Linked DNA regions of Homo sapiens: all the other regions are linked to region 3. Evidence: promoter capture Hi-C in human tissues and cell types (Jung and others, 2019). All regions are on one chromosome and are shown on one strand. The core of a region is centred on a gene start or on the middle of the fragment in contact, and the rest is flanking DNA. Distances in the headings are between cores, read along the strand shown.

Region 1 (4,842 bases), core at 700-3,199, 530 kb before region 3:
TGGAGAAGCAATTTATAAGTGACTTCATTGTTTTTGGTAAAAGGGCAACTCAAATTTTGCCTTAATCCCTATGACATGATGAATTAGTTCAGAGGGTGATTCCTAATATTTTTTTACTTTATGTCTTTAAAGAGAACCACCTCTTACTTCCTCACCCATTTATTTGATGTCCTAAACTGTGTTAGAGTCCTTGCAGCCTCTTTCACAGAGGCCATCTCTGCCCTCCTAGACTGTCCTCTAGGAAAAGCTATGGAGGGAGGCCCCATCCGCTTCTAGTGTTCTCTTCCCTTGATTTTGTCATATTTGTTGCTCCAGCAGGAAATCAAGTGACCTTCTCCCCAGAACAAGGAAGAGGAGATAGTCTTTCTTTCCCACCACAGCTCCTTTCCACAAATACTTAATTCACAAACATCTTGTGCCTGGCATTATAGTAGTTACTGGGCTTCTTTCGAGGAGTGAAGAAGCCCTCCTTCTAAAAAGCTTTCAAACCAAAAAATGCTAGTAGAAATGTGAAAACAATGGTTTTTCTTAGCAGTAGGAATGATATAATTTATCATCTAGCTTTATCACAGACCAGTAGAACAGAGATGTTTTCAGATAAAAACAGCTTTCTTGTTATAAATTAAAGTTCAAAGAGAAAAGGAAATGCAAAACAATACTTTTAAACCAAATTTAACTAGGACAGTGGAATGTTTATTGAACAGCTAAATCCTAGGTAATATAATAAGCATGGTACACAGTATCTTGCTTAATATTCAACTCACGTCTATTATCATTGCATATACAAATTAGTAGTTAACTGAGACTATGCAAAATTAATTTGTTCACTCTCATACTGCTAGTAAGTATAATAGCTGACCTGGAATATGAACTCAGGTTTTTCTGACTCAAAAATCTAACTTCTTTCCATACACTTAAATATTTATTTAGTGCCTACCTGTGGTAAGCATTGTGACTGGCCCATAGTCCAGAAGGGGTGGTAGATGTGTAAGCAATAATTATAGGGCAAAGTAATAAGTGTGATATCTTAGGTATATGGCAGGTACCAGGAAAGCATAAGAGAAGGTAACCGAGTAAAGTACTAGATGGTGAGTAGTCAGTAAAGATTTCACCAAGGAATTTTCTCCTAAATTAAATCATCAAGAATAATCTTAAAATCATTAATTAGACCAGAGAATGACTGTATTAAGGGAAAAGCAGAAAATGTCCAAAACAGAGGCAGTAAGTCAAAGCATCGTTATGGAAGGTGCCCAAACAGTAGGGTCCTCTGAAATAATTACAGTATGGTGGGAAATTAAGGCAGATAAATACTCATTCAGAGATCTTCTAATCCCCCAAAACACTGAAAACACTGCTAAGGAATCCGAAATTCACCCCACAGCACATGAGCCCCAGCCAATCAGAACAGATACCAGTTGTAAATGGCCAGTTCAACCTAACTAGTGCAAACCAGCGAAATATCAACCCTGCCTTTAGGAAATAGGAGCACCAGTGGGGTGTTTACCGCAGGGGAGTAGCCTGACCAGCTCTGTATTTTAGGAAGGCAATTCCTAAATATATAGCATGAAGATATAATATGAAGTATGAACAGAAGGAAGGCAAAAGCAGAGACCAGGAATAAATTCTGTTAAAGGGTTTCTGCTGGAGGGAGAGGGGAGATAAATGATTTTAAAAGACGCCAGGTAATCAAAATGTAAACATCATTTCAAATGAGTCTATTACAATAACAAATAGGACTATGTATTATACAGAAACCATTACACAATAAGAATAATTCAGACTGGTGACTCTGCGATTACCCCCACAAATATATTTGAATGTTATTTCAGCAGAGTAACAAGAAAATTACTATCATTTAACTAAGCACCTTGTTTTGTTCAAGTTACATAACATCAAACATCTATTTTACAAACATTTTTGGAAAGGTGCTGGACCATAGAAAATATGGTTCTATAAACTCTACATCACAATGGCCTCATTTAATCTATTTTATGGAAAAAGAAAGCAGACTTGTTCAACAAAAGAAAGAAGTACTGATATATTTCTAATAAGCCTCTGAGTCCTACTCTGTGATCATTTTATTATAGCAAATGTTCAAGCTATATATTCTGGCCCACACTACTTTCAGTTATATGGATCACTACTCCAGTAAACCATTTACAAGCCTACAAATGGCAATGTGTACAATTACAGCACAAAAATCTAAATAAAAACAAATCTTATACAATATCAAGATCTGTAAAGTGTCCATATTATGAGATACAAGATATTAGAGGTTCCTCTACTTATAGTATTTGTCTGGGTGCTTTAAGTAGTTGATATAGGCTCTATTTCCAAATCAATAAGATAATATAAAAATTCAGAAAGACCCTCAAAGGAACACAAAATAAGTCATAAAACTAGAGTACAGGAGAATAAGGAACAAAAAGAATCAAGCATGGTATGTCTCAGATCCATTAGGACGATTAATGTGTTTGGGAATTTTTAAAAACTGTTCACTTATTTGTGAAAAGTAAAGAGTTACAGCTAACATATAATTACAAACTATAAATTATAAAGATTTTAGATGCATATTGCACTTACAAAGAGTTTGAGGAACTTAAACAGTTTAAATCCTGCCAGTCATCAATGAAAGAGATCACTTAATACTTTCTTTCTTTCCCCTACTAATCCTAGTTCTAAAATAAAAACTAAAGCTGATCATACAAGAAAATATTGCCTATGAGTTTCTCATGTGTTTGATTAAAGGGATCAGTTTTACTTGACAAAGTAACAAAAACAGACATCACCATCTCTGTATAAGCATAGAGAACAAAAGTAATAAATAGACATAAAAGCTACATGGTATTTCCTAAAATTATGAATTTTCAGCAAACAGTCCATGGAAATTTCTTTTAAGTGTGGTAATGACCTAACATCCATACATCAAATTCAACTTATTTGACAAATCTGCAAGCTTCTCACATATCTGTATTACTCTTCAGTCTATCCAGAATTATAGAAATAGCAGTTCTAGCTAAACTGCAGTTTAATTACTGGTTGACTTTGAATTAGAAGTTAAGGTGGCTAAACAGCCCATATGTTAAACATAAAAAACTTAAACTCAGAGGTGGGTCAATGCAAATAAAATCAGATTCACTGTTGAATTTCATTAGGAGGTTTGCATAAAGAGAACAGTTCTCTCTTTCAAAATGGCCTTTTTAAACAAATAGCTAACTCCTTAAATGTGTGGCATTTGATTAGAGGATTTCATGAAAAAAATGTATTTGCAAATTAATGGCCATTTGCTCTAAAGATATAATAAAGAAGAAAAGGTTTTAAAGAATCCTTACCTATAATCCAATCATGGTAATTGTCAAAGAATGCCAGAGTAGAAGATTAAATCATAAGAGAAAAATTAGTCATTTCCCATACTGTTTACTGTACCTGTTTTTGAGTTATCTTACATGTATGTACCTAGCTTAAATTTTCATATTCAAGCATGAAACCCTCATGCTGGCCTATGGAGAGTTCCACAGTGCTAAGAACTGAGGTGCTTCCTGCCAACAGACAGCATCAGCTTGCCAGCCATGTGAGTGAGCTGTCTTAGGATGGATCTTCCGGCCCCAGTGTCAAGTCTTGGGATGATGGAAGCCCTAGCTGACATCTTGACCTCATGAGAGACCCTGAGCCAGAACCACCTAGCTAAACCACTTCCAAATTCCTGGCCCTCAGAAACTAAGATGATCCTCATTGTTTTAAGCCACTGAATTTTAGGGTAACTTGTAATGTAGCAATAGAGACCTAATAAAAGGACATGTAAAAATAATAATAGTATTTTAGTGTGACTGTAATAGAAGAAGACTGGGAGTAATTTTGTCTTCTACTTCCTAAACTTTCTTTAAGGTTATGTCACTTTCATTGTTCCATTTTTTTAAAAGCGTAATGTTCATATTACTCCCACCATTTTCTTTGGAGAAGTTTTACCGAAGTCATTCACTCATTGAACAAATGCCTGCGAGGATGACAAGTCAGAATAGTCACCATCACTGACCTTACGGAGTTTACAGACTTTAATCAAATTTGTCTAGGATTACAGATAGTGACATAGTGATATAGTCTTTTTTTTTTCCCTATGTTTCTGGAAGGCAAATTAATTCCTTCTAGAAGGCAAATCAATTAAGTGATTAGTAAATGGGATAATGATGTCAGCATAACACAAAAATTGTATTGGTTCACAGGGTTTTTTCCTTCACAAGAGCACTCAGTACAGCTGGTGAATTACAGCCTTTATCAAGAATGGAAAGAGCTCTCAGCTCTGCTGTATAGCAGCAGGAAGAATCTTTTCATTTGTATTTAACAAGACCTAAAAGCAAGCACTTCCACCAGGAGCCCCTACCAGCTTTGTGCTCCTTTCAGCTTATGCCAGGTTACCCTGACTCTTGTACCCAACCTTACTGCAGCGCCCCTGGTTTGGAGCTCCACTTCCTTCTGTGTTATATCAGCACCTGCCACCTCTGCTCTAATTAAAATGTTGGTAGCATTTCACTCTTCTTTGTGTATTTTTTAATACCTACCATTAGAGCTTGCTGTTTTACTAAACTGGTACCAACTTTTTGTTTTCTCACTGCTCTGGTTACAATGCTGCACAAGTTTTGAGTGGTTGACCCCCACCGTGTTTTCTTCATAGGCTGTCTTATTTTTAACACATAATGCTGCAGAATGAGGTATTTAGGAACATATATATCGTGGCATAGAAGAAATGTCTGAAGGAAACTTTCACGGTACTAGGACAGTATGTAACACAGGACCTTGACCTAATATGGAAATAGCATGTGTGAAGGTTTAAAGCACAGAGACAGG
Region 2 (4,729 bases), core at 1-2,500, 550 kb before region 3:
AAAGATAATAATCACCCTGCAATCATGTATTTTTTTAATTTTAGAGGAAAAAAAATCACATTTGCTCTTTGAGAGATACTACCTTTTGTTTTATAGAAACAAAACAAAAAACATTATATATTCTTTGCTAGGCATGAGGGAAAGACTCCAGATAAAATCCAGGATCTTCCCAAAAAGCCCGTAGAGCCACAAACCTTAAAATCACATCTCCCTATTAGCATCTTCTCCCTAGTAACTAAATATGCCTTCTTCTATTTAGACCCAAAAAAGTCAATCCACAGGTTGAATTCCACATAAATCTATTTTTAGTTAAGTCCCTAAGGCACGTTTTTGCAAGCTGAGTGACAATTCCTCTAAGACTCAATCCCTCAATCCTATGAGCCTTCTTACATCAGAGGGATTGAAATATTATAAAGTATGTATTCAAAGCATACAAATCCTTGAAGTTAGTCTCTGCCCATTTGCAGTGTCCAGAACCAGAAAAGGGAGGATATAATGGTGGTTAAAAATAGTTAAGCAGCCAATAGATGCTGTAGGCTCACCTCTGTTTCACCCTCTTGGCCACACTGACCAAATAATTCCCTTCTCCAAACCAAAATCGAGAGATGTGGGTATAAAATAGCTTAACCCTTTCAAAATTTCCTATATTAATTTAAAATACTTGCAGGGATGCATCAATTAAGGCTACAATTTAATATACTAGAAATCTAAGCCCTGAAGTTTGCTAAATTATAATACAACATAAACAGTTTCCAAGTCAATACATGCGAGAAAGAAAACTTAACCTCTACAATACTGCCCTCTAATGGCATAATATAAAAACCAAAAAATCTACAAAGTACTTGGGGAGACCTCTCTAATCTGTAGATAAAATTGTGTCATCACAAATAATTCCAACATAAAATCTGACCGTAGAACATATATATGTAATACACGCACATGCACAAACACACACAGTCTTCTCTCCAAAATAAGCATCTTTCCTCAAGCAGCATCCTTTTCTAAAATTGCCATCAGATCCATTTAGACAGTTTTTAAGTTGACTCAATGCTGGTAGTGGGGGTAGGTAGATTTGGTTTTCAGAAACTGTCCAAAGTTATTAGGAACCAGACCAGATCGGTAAGCACAGTAAATGATGAAGACCACAATTCTCTTTTGGGTTAAAAACCAAAGTGTGACCAACTATAAAGTGATGAGATTCCCTTTTTACTGAAAGGTTCATATTCTCCAAATTTTAAGGCTTGGCTTTTGAATAACAATAATTGTTAACATATTTATAATTTATAAAAATTACATATATTAACTCATATGATGCTTTAAAAAAAAAGATACCCATTTCCAACAAAAGGAGACTAAGTAGAAGCTTAGAAATCGTAATTATTTGGGAAGCTGGCATGTGGTCCCTATGTCTATGAATGCTAACCAGAATATTATTTACTACATGATAGTCTCTATATTTTGAAAGTTAAAGTTATACCTAAAACTATTTGTATGCTAAATTCCATTTACATGTTTTAACTGAATGCCAACTTCATGAAAAAAGGGTATTAAAGCACCATTTAAGCTATAAAAAGAGCTTTAAAAAACAAAACTCTAAGGTCATATAAAAAAATTTTTAAATTCCAAGCTGCAGTTTTAAAAAATTACTAAATTAACTGAATTTATTCATGCCGTTCTTCAACATAAACAGAAAGCTGTTTTTATTTCAATCATTTTAACTGATCATCCATTGTATCAAGCAAGAGAAGCAAATATAAGCAACCATAGTCTATTTAACCCATTTTCCTATTGAAGGACATTACAGTTATTGTTAATACTTGGATATTTTAAATAAAATTGCAAGGAACATCCTTCTACATACATCCTTGAACATGTATGTGTGTGTGCACACTTCTGGAGAATTTGTTGAGCCAAAGGATAGGCAACTAAAAAAATGATTAGAAATCTAATTTTCTCATATATTTCACATAAATATGCTAGATTCCTTTAAAACTAGACTTTTGTATGAAAACTGAGAAGACATAATTTGAAAAAGAAGGCAAAGGAAATGGAAAGCTCCATGGAGGGAAAACCCTTGGATCAGAAATGTCCGTGGCACAAATGGCTAGAATTACATTCAAAGGCTCTTCTAATTGCAAGACAAACGATCCATATGTCTGGTGCCTCATCAGAGCTCACTGAGACTTGCTGACAGGGCAGAGAAAAATACTACAAGGCTTCCAGGAGAGATCCTTAAAGCCATGGACCATATAAGTCTATTTCAGGCACTGAGCAAAGATCAGGAGGTATCACCTCAGTGGGAACTCATACACATTAAACAGCCTGGACAATTGAGATTGAGGTATTTTCTAGTGTTGTCTGCCTAAAAGCCTTTTTACACAGATTCCAATTCAACTGCTACTGCATATTGGTAGCAAGCATGACAGGATAGGAAAAGAGGAACAGGCCTGAGTGTTTCTGTTTCCTGTAACATGTGCTTTTCTTCCAAACTTAATCTGACTTGGCCAACACCGGTACAGTTGGAGATTCAGCACTGAAATAGAGTAACCTCTTTCTCCCCCTATCCAAACTCCTTGCAAATCTAAAACAACTGCCAGGAAAGAAGCGAAGGCACATTACCCTGTACCTGACCAAATCACTGCTGTCTAAGGACTCCCACGTCACCTCCATTTTTCTAGTTTACTCTCACTAGGCATGGGAATATACTTACCAGGTTTAACAAATGAAACTACAGGACTATCAGTTAAATGTGAATGGCAGAAAAACAACAAATAGTGTTTTAGTGTTGGGTCCCACACACTGTCAAAACAAGAAGAAATGCCAAAGAAATGGCTGTTAAATTCAACCACAATTTACATTTCCTTATCTCCACAGAAAGGCTGGTTGGAAAAAGCTTCCAAAAGAGTAGAACAGTGGCCGGGCGCGAGCGCGATGGCTCATGCCTGTAATCCCAGCACTTTGAGAGGGTGAGATGGGCGGATCACTTGAGGTCAGGAGTTCAAGACCAGCCTTGCCAACATGGTAAAACCCCGTCTCCACTTTAAAAAAAAACAAAAACAAATAAATTAGCTGGGCGTGGTGGCACATGTCTATAATCCCAGCTACTGGGGAGGCTGACGAAGAATTGCTTGAACCCAGGAGGCAGAGGTTGCAGTGAGCTGAGATCGCATCATTGCACTCCAGCCTAGGCAACAGGGCAAGGCTCTGTCTCAAAAAAAAAAAAAAAAAAAAAAAGAATCGGAAAAGAAAAAGGATAAATCTAGGAGGTCCAACATCAAAATAGGATGCATTTCTATTTTGGAGAGAGAACAGAAGGAAGAGAATTATCAAATAATTTAAGAATTGTTCCAGAACTGAAGGACACAAGTCTCCAGTTAAATGAGATGACCAAATGCCCACCACAAGAAATGAAAAAGCCCTCCACCAAAGCACACCACCCTGAAACCTTAATCACTAGGCATAGAGAGAAAATACTAAAAGCTTCCAAATGGAAGAAACAAGTTACAAACACAGGGACTAGGAACAGAACCACTTTGCTGGCAGTCAGAAAAAGATGAAGAAAATGTCTTTAAAATTCTGAGAGAAAAGAGTTTTTTTATCCAGAATTCTTTACTTGGCCAAATCATCATTTGAGTGTAAAGGTAGAATTAAAACATTTTTAGATATTTCAGACACCAAAATGGAGGAGCAAATCAAGAAAAAAGGCAGGCATGGGAAATAGGAACCAGGAACTCAGATACTGGAGGAAAGGAAGGGAATCAGCAGGCTGGAGTGCAGGGAGATCTCAGGGGGACTGCTGCTGGACAAGCCCAAGCTGCAGCTGGTCTGTACCTGGTCTGCAATGGTAAGGGAAGATGGAGAACTCCAGGAGGGAGAGCTTCCGTGCTAATGAACACACAGATTATCTAACACATCTAAGCATTTGCAGGGCACAGGTGAGCTACTGATAGGTGTATGATAGATCTAATGGAACAATTAGATAAGCTCAAAGGCAGTTTTACTGAAAACAGAGCAAGGAAGAAAACACGGAATGCTCATAAAATATACATGACCCATATTATTTTTTCATTTTTTTGTGGATTTACCTTTTAAAAGTTAACTTTATTGAGAAGGTAACAGGAAGAAAAATTGCATGGCAGGAATGGTTTAAAACTGCTAAATCCTAATCTACTACAGCTTGATTACCTAACATCTAAAATGGAAAAAGCAAGAAATAGTGTAAGTATAAATATATTACATAGAAATGTGGAGGTAAAAATGAGAAAAAACAACTAAAACTTAAAAGTGGCTGCGTCTAAGGCACCGAGTGGATAAGTGAAAAAAGAGAACTGCTATTTTTTTCTATTCATTCTATTTGCTTTTTGGGTATGTACATGTATTTTGATTAAAAAATTTAAATAAAATAAATTTTAAACACTTCAAAATAAAAGAAAGGTTTATAGGGATCTGCAGCAGTTCTTCCTGCTTCCAGGCTTCAGCAGAGCCCTTAGCACACCTGCATGTGAGGAAACTACCCGAGGCTGGGGAAAGAACCACCCAAAAGAAGCAAGCAGAACAATTTTCAGAAATCACATAGGGTAGGCACCAGTTGGTATTACCACCCACCAGCCTAAATGAAAAAAAAACTCTGTAAAAAGGGATATCAGATATTCAGAAGTATACTGCCTAAGTCTCCTTCTGAATGCTTAGAAGAATTCTAATTCCCTTCAGTCTAGGACTAATTTAAGGG
Region 3 (4,569 bases), core at 1,061-3,560:
TGAGGTCAGGAGTTCGAGATAAGCCTGGCCAACATGGTGAAACCTTGTCTCTACTAAAAATACAAAAATTAGCCAGGCATGGTGGCGGGCACCTGTAGTACCAGCTGCTCGGGAGGCTGAGGCAGGAGAATCACCTCAACCTGGGAGGTGGAGGTTGCAATGAGCCAAGATCACGCCATTGCACTCCAGCCTGAGCAACAGAGACTCTGTCTCAACAAATTAAAAAAAAAAATAAATAAAGTGCCCAGATTATAGGTGTGAGCTACCCTGCTCAGCCTAAAGTATTTTTTAATCAAGGTATGTAAGTTGTTTTTTAAGACATAATGGTATTGCACACTTACTAGACTATGGTATAATGTAAAAATAACTTTTTTGCCCCATAGGATCTGCAGGAAAACATACTTTTACATGCAACGGAAAACCAAAAAAAAAATAATTGTGTGACTTGCTTTACTGCAGTGGTCTGTAACTGAACCCACAAGAGCTCCAAGGTATCCCCAGATCTAGAATCCAACTACTTCTCACCATCCCTTGGGCTTCACCCTGGTCCAAGTCTCCAATATCTCTTGTTTAGAAAAGTAACTACAATAGCTTCCTAACCGGTTTCCCTTTCAGTCAGTTCTCACCAACAGACACATTAATCCTCTTAAAACGTAAATCAGGTCATGTCAATCCGCTGTACTACCCACCTCACAACAGTAAAAGTCAAAGTCCCACGATCTACAAAGACATACCAGGTCTTACCCTCCTCCCCCATCTTCTACAATTATACTCCAGACTCAGTCCTCTGTAGCCACACTGGTTCCCATTCTGATGTATAGCTTCTAAGCCTCAAGACCTTTGCACTTGCAGTTCCTTCTGCCCGTACCCCTATTCTCCCAGTTGTATGCATGGCTGTGATCTCTCACCTCCCTAAAGTCTTCGCTCATATGTCACCTTCCTTATGACTAACAATGACATTTAAAACTGCACTACCTGGCCCGGCGTGGTGGCTCATGCCTGTAATCCCAACACTTTGGGAGGCTGAGGCGGGCGGATGCCTGAGCTCAGGAGTTAGAGACAGGCCTGTCCAACACGGGGCAACCCCCTTTCTACTAAAAATATAAAAAATTAGCCGGGTGTGGTGGCGTGGGCCTGTAGTCCCAGCTACTCAGGAGTTTGAGGCATGAGAATTGCTTGAACTCGGGAGGCAGAGGTTGCAGTGAGCCTCTCTGCAGAGACTGCATAGGCTGGAGTGAAGTAGATCGCGCTACTCTTCACTCCAGCCTGGGCGACAGAGCGACACTCTGTCTCCAAAAAAAAAGAAAAAAAGAAAATCCTGCACTACTTACCATTCTTCTTTGTTTTATCTCTCTCCATGCCACTCAACCTTCTAATGCACAATATTTTATTTTGCTTATTGTCTGTCTTCCTACACAAGAGAGATAATATTAAGCTCCATAATATTTTTTGTATGTTCTGCTCACTGCTATATACCCAGATTCTGGTACATAGTCGGAATTCAATAAATAACTGCTAAATGGAATTAACAGTCAACAGGAAAACATTCTAGTCAGACATATTTTGAGAACAAAGGATTTACAATATTATATAAACTTAGTTGATAAAGCAGCCTCGACTTCCTGGGTTCAAGGAATCCTCCTGCCTCAGCCTCCCATGCATCTGCGACCACAGGCATGCCACCATGCCTGGCTAATTTTATTTTTTTTGTAGAGACGGGGGTCTCACTTTGCTTTGAGATGCTAATGACCAGACTCCAAGAGTGCAGAGGCAAGGCAGAGTAGAGAGAGGAAGCAGAGAAAGGGGAGAGGAAAGAACGGGGGAAAAAGGTAAAGGGGTCGACTCACGTGGAAAAATAGCCTACCTGCAGGGTTGAAGGACTTCTGATGCCGAGGAAACCTATCAGAAGACTGTCTCCAATACCACGATGTGGAAGCATGGAAATTCCAAGGCTGGCCGCTGGGTTGAGGCTGAGAATCAAGGGGAGACTGGGCGTCGAAGGGGGGTTGCGCCCCGGGAAGAATCTGGGCGTCGAAGGGGGGCGGAGCCCCGGGGAGAGACTGGGCCTCCATGGGGGGCTGCGACTCAGAGGAAGGCTTTGACCCGGCTGCGGGAAGCGAGGACGTAAGTGGTGGTGGCGGTGGCGGCAGCATTGCCCAGAACATCCAGCTGTCCCGCGGCGGGGCAGTGTCGCTCAGGGGCCCTAACGTGGGAGTCAGCTCGGGAGACGCATGCCACCCGATAGGAGTCTCGAAATCACTAGTCGGCTCAGCCATACCACTGGCGGGTCCGGAGTCTAGCACGCGACTGTGGAGCAAGCATTAGGCGTCACTTCCTTTACCGTGAACTACAAGGCTCAGCCAACCACAGGCTTTACGTCATTTCTCGGCGCCGGGAAACCTGCCATTCTTCGCTGCTGATCGCGGGATTCTTTTTGGATAGGGTTGACGTTCGTGGATAGACTCATATCTGTGACCAGTGTCCGCCACCGCGGATGGCAAGAGACCTGATCGGACCGGCCCTGCCGCCCGGCTTCAAGGCCCGCGGAACAGCGGAGGACGAAGAGCGGGACCCGAGCCCTGGTAAGCGGCGGCGTCTCCGCTGCCCACCAGGCCCATCTACCCACTCCCTGGCCGGGCCCTGCTCGCTGAAGAAAGTCGGAGGCCTAGGAGGGCGGAGGAGTGGGGAGTGGGCGCGGCCTGACCCGAGAGAACTTTTCTCTTCCCAAACAGTAGCAGGGGGGAGGAGGCTGGGGGACCCTCCTAGAAACGAGCTTTGGCGTGGTTTGGCTTCGTGATGATAATACATTCTCATTTAGCCTTAATATGAGCTGCACGCTGCCCTAACTGACTGATACCCACTCAGTCATTTAAGCCGTATAAGAAAAAAACTATTTTCCCATGTTGCAAATGGGTACGCCCAAGCCCATGCCAGTGTCTAGATCATACTGCTAGCAAGTGATGGAGCGCGACTTAGAAGGAAGCGGTTCTCTTAACCTCTGTGCCATATTGCCTTCTGATTACAAGAACCTTGCAGATCCTGTTCTCTCCAGCCCCCGACCTGCCTTCCTAGCCTCTCATTCTGTTATTGCATCTGACAAACACAGCCCAATACTCAATCCAGTCTGAGTTGCTGCGCAATTCCTTAACGCTCTAGGCTTCTGGGCTTCCTCTGGTTGCATTCCTAAACATAACTGACAAACTTCTCCCCATCCTTCAAGGCCCAACTTAAATGTCACACCAATAAAACCTTTCCAGATTCCCCGAAGCATTGTCATGCCTTTCTTTTTGCCCTCGGGTTTTTTCCTAATTACATTGCATATTTAGTACACTGTATTTGAATAATTTGTCGACATAATCTGTCTCCACCATTGCACTATGGTCTTCTACCTGAACACGCAACAGGCACTTGGTATATACGAAACGAATGCTTCTCGGATTCCGGCATGCATACCTATCTGCTTTAATGTTTATTCACATTTGTAGACTAGCACCGACACCCAGTTGGAGAAGAGTAAAGCTGAAAGAGTAACCCTGCCATTTCTGAATCTAATTTTTCTTCCTGGTCTACCCGGAGGCTATGTTTCTACTACAGGCCCCTTTCCAATATAATTTCTGTCATAACCACTTTAAAAATTATGCCTTCCAGCTGAGCGAGGTGGCACAAGCCTGTAATCTCAGCACTTTGAGAGGCTGAGACGGGGCGGATCACTTGAACTCAGGAGTTCAAGACCAGCCTGGCCAACATGTTGAAACCCCATCTCTACTAAAAATACAAAAATTAGCCGGGCGTGGTGGCGGGCGCCTGTAATCCCAGCTGCTCTGGAGGCTGAGGCAGGAGAATCGCTTGAACCCAGGAGGCGGAGGTTGCAGTGAGCCGAGAGTGCCACTGCGCTCCAGCCTGGGCGACGGAACGAGAGTTTGTCTCAATAAATAAATAAATAAAAGTAAATGTGAAAAATTATGCTTTCCTTCCTGTAGGAGATAGCTTTAAAAAAATAAAATAAGGCCAGGTGCGGTGGCTCACGCCTGTGAACCCAGCGCTTTGGGAGGCCGAGGCGGGCGGATCACGAGGTCGAGAGATCGAGACCATTCTGGCCAACATGGTGAAACCCTGTCTCTACTAAAAATACAAAAATTAGCCAGGCATGGTGGCACGTACCTGTAGTCCCAGCTACTTGGGAGGCTGAGGCAGGAGAATTGCTTGAACCTGGGAGGCGGAGGTTGCGGTGAGCCGAGATCGCGCCACTGCACTCCAGCCTGGCGACAGAGTGAGACTCTGTCTCAAAAAAAAAAAAGAAAAAGATTCTTCGTATATATTTGTTGAATGACTTCTCTTCGTCAAGCACAATATCTTACACGTAGTGTGTCATTTTAAACACATAATCTCCCCTGCTATAATTCCATTCCCTTCATAACCGCCTAGATGGCTGAACCTAAAACGGTTGCCAAAAAATCTTCATATATCATTTTTATTTCATCTATCTGGATTTTTAAGAAGTTTGCCAGTACCAATGGCCTTCACATCCACTATATCACACCATAGAAGCTGCACTTGGACCATCTTCCA

The links. Contacts are between HindIII fragments. The study calls those that stand out against the background at their distance.
Region 1: a contact is called between a fragment that was not itself captured here and the fragment with the promoter of NUFIP1 in region 3, in 2 of the 25 tissues and cell types used here (dorsolateral prefrontal cortex and hippocampus).
Region 2: a contact is called between a fragment that was not itself captured here and the fragment with the promoter of NUFIP1 in region 3, in 1 of the 25 tissues and cell types used here (aorta).

The regions. Positions count from the first base shown.
Region 1 is chr13:44,460,401-44,465,242 of GRCh38, forward strand. The region is part of intron 1 of TSC22D1 (TSC22 domain family member 1); the gene reads right to left. LOC124903167 (a long non-coding RNA gene) reads left to right here. Exons shown (of 4, transcript XR_007063778.1): 4 at 4,221-4,291. Among named protein-coding and RNA genes, the nearest start is that of TUSC8, 57 kb to the left of the region's middle. The HindIII fragment of the contact is 4,111 bases long and covers 1-4,005 here.
Region 2 is chr13:44,437,377-44,442,105 of GRCh38, forward strand. All of the region lies in intron 1 of TSC22D1 (TSC22 domain family member 1), which reads right to left. All of the region lies in intron 1 of LOC124903167 (a long non-coding RNA gene), which reads left to right. Among named protein-coding and RNA genes, the nearest start is that of TUSC8, 34 kb to the left of the region's middle. The HindIII fragment of the contact is 3,872 bases long and covers 1-3,186 here.
Region 3 is chr13:44,987,161-44,991,729 of GRCh38, forward strand. It overlaps NUFIP1 (nuclear FMR1 interacting protein 1), which reads right to left and starts at 2,311. Exons shown (of 10, transcript NM_012345.3): 1 at 1,865-2,311. The coding sequence starts at 2,276. GPALPP1 (GPALPP motifs containing 1) reads left to right here and starts at 2,378. Exons shown (of 8, transcript NM_018559.5): 1 at 2,378-2,582. The coding sequence starts at 2,495. RefSeq lists enhancers at 1,849-2,487, 2,112-2,181, 2,372-2,561, 2,488-3,124. The HindIII fragment of the contact is 10,586 bases long and covers 1-4,569 here.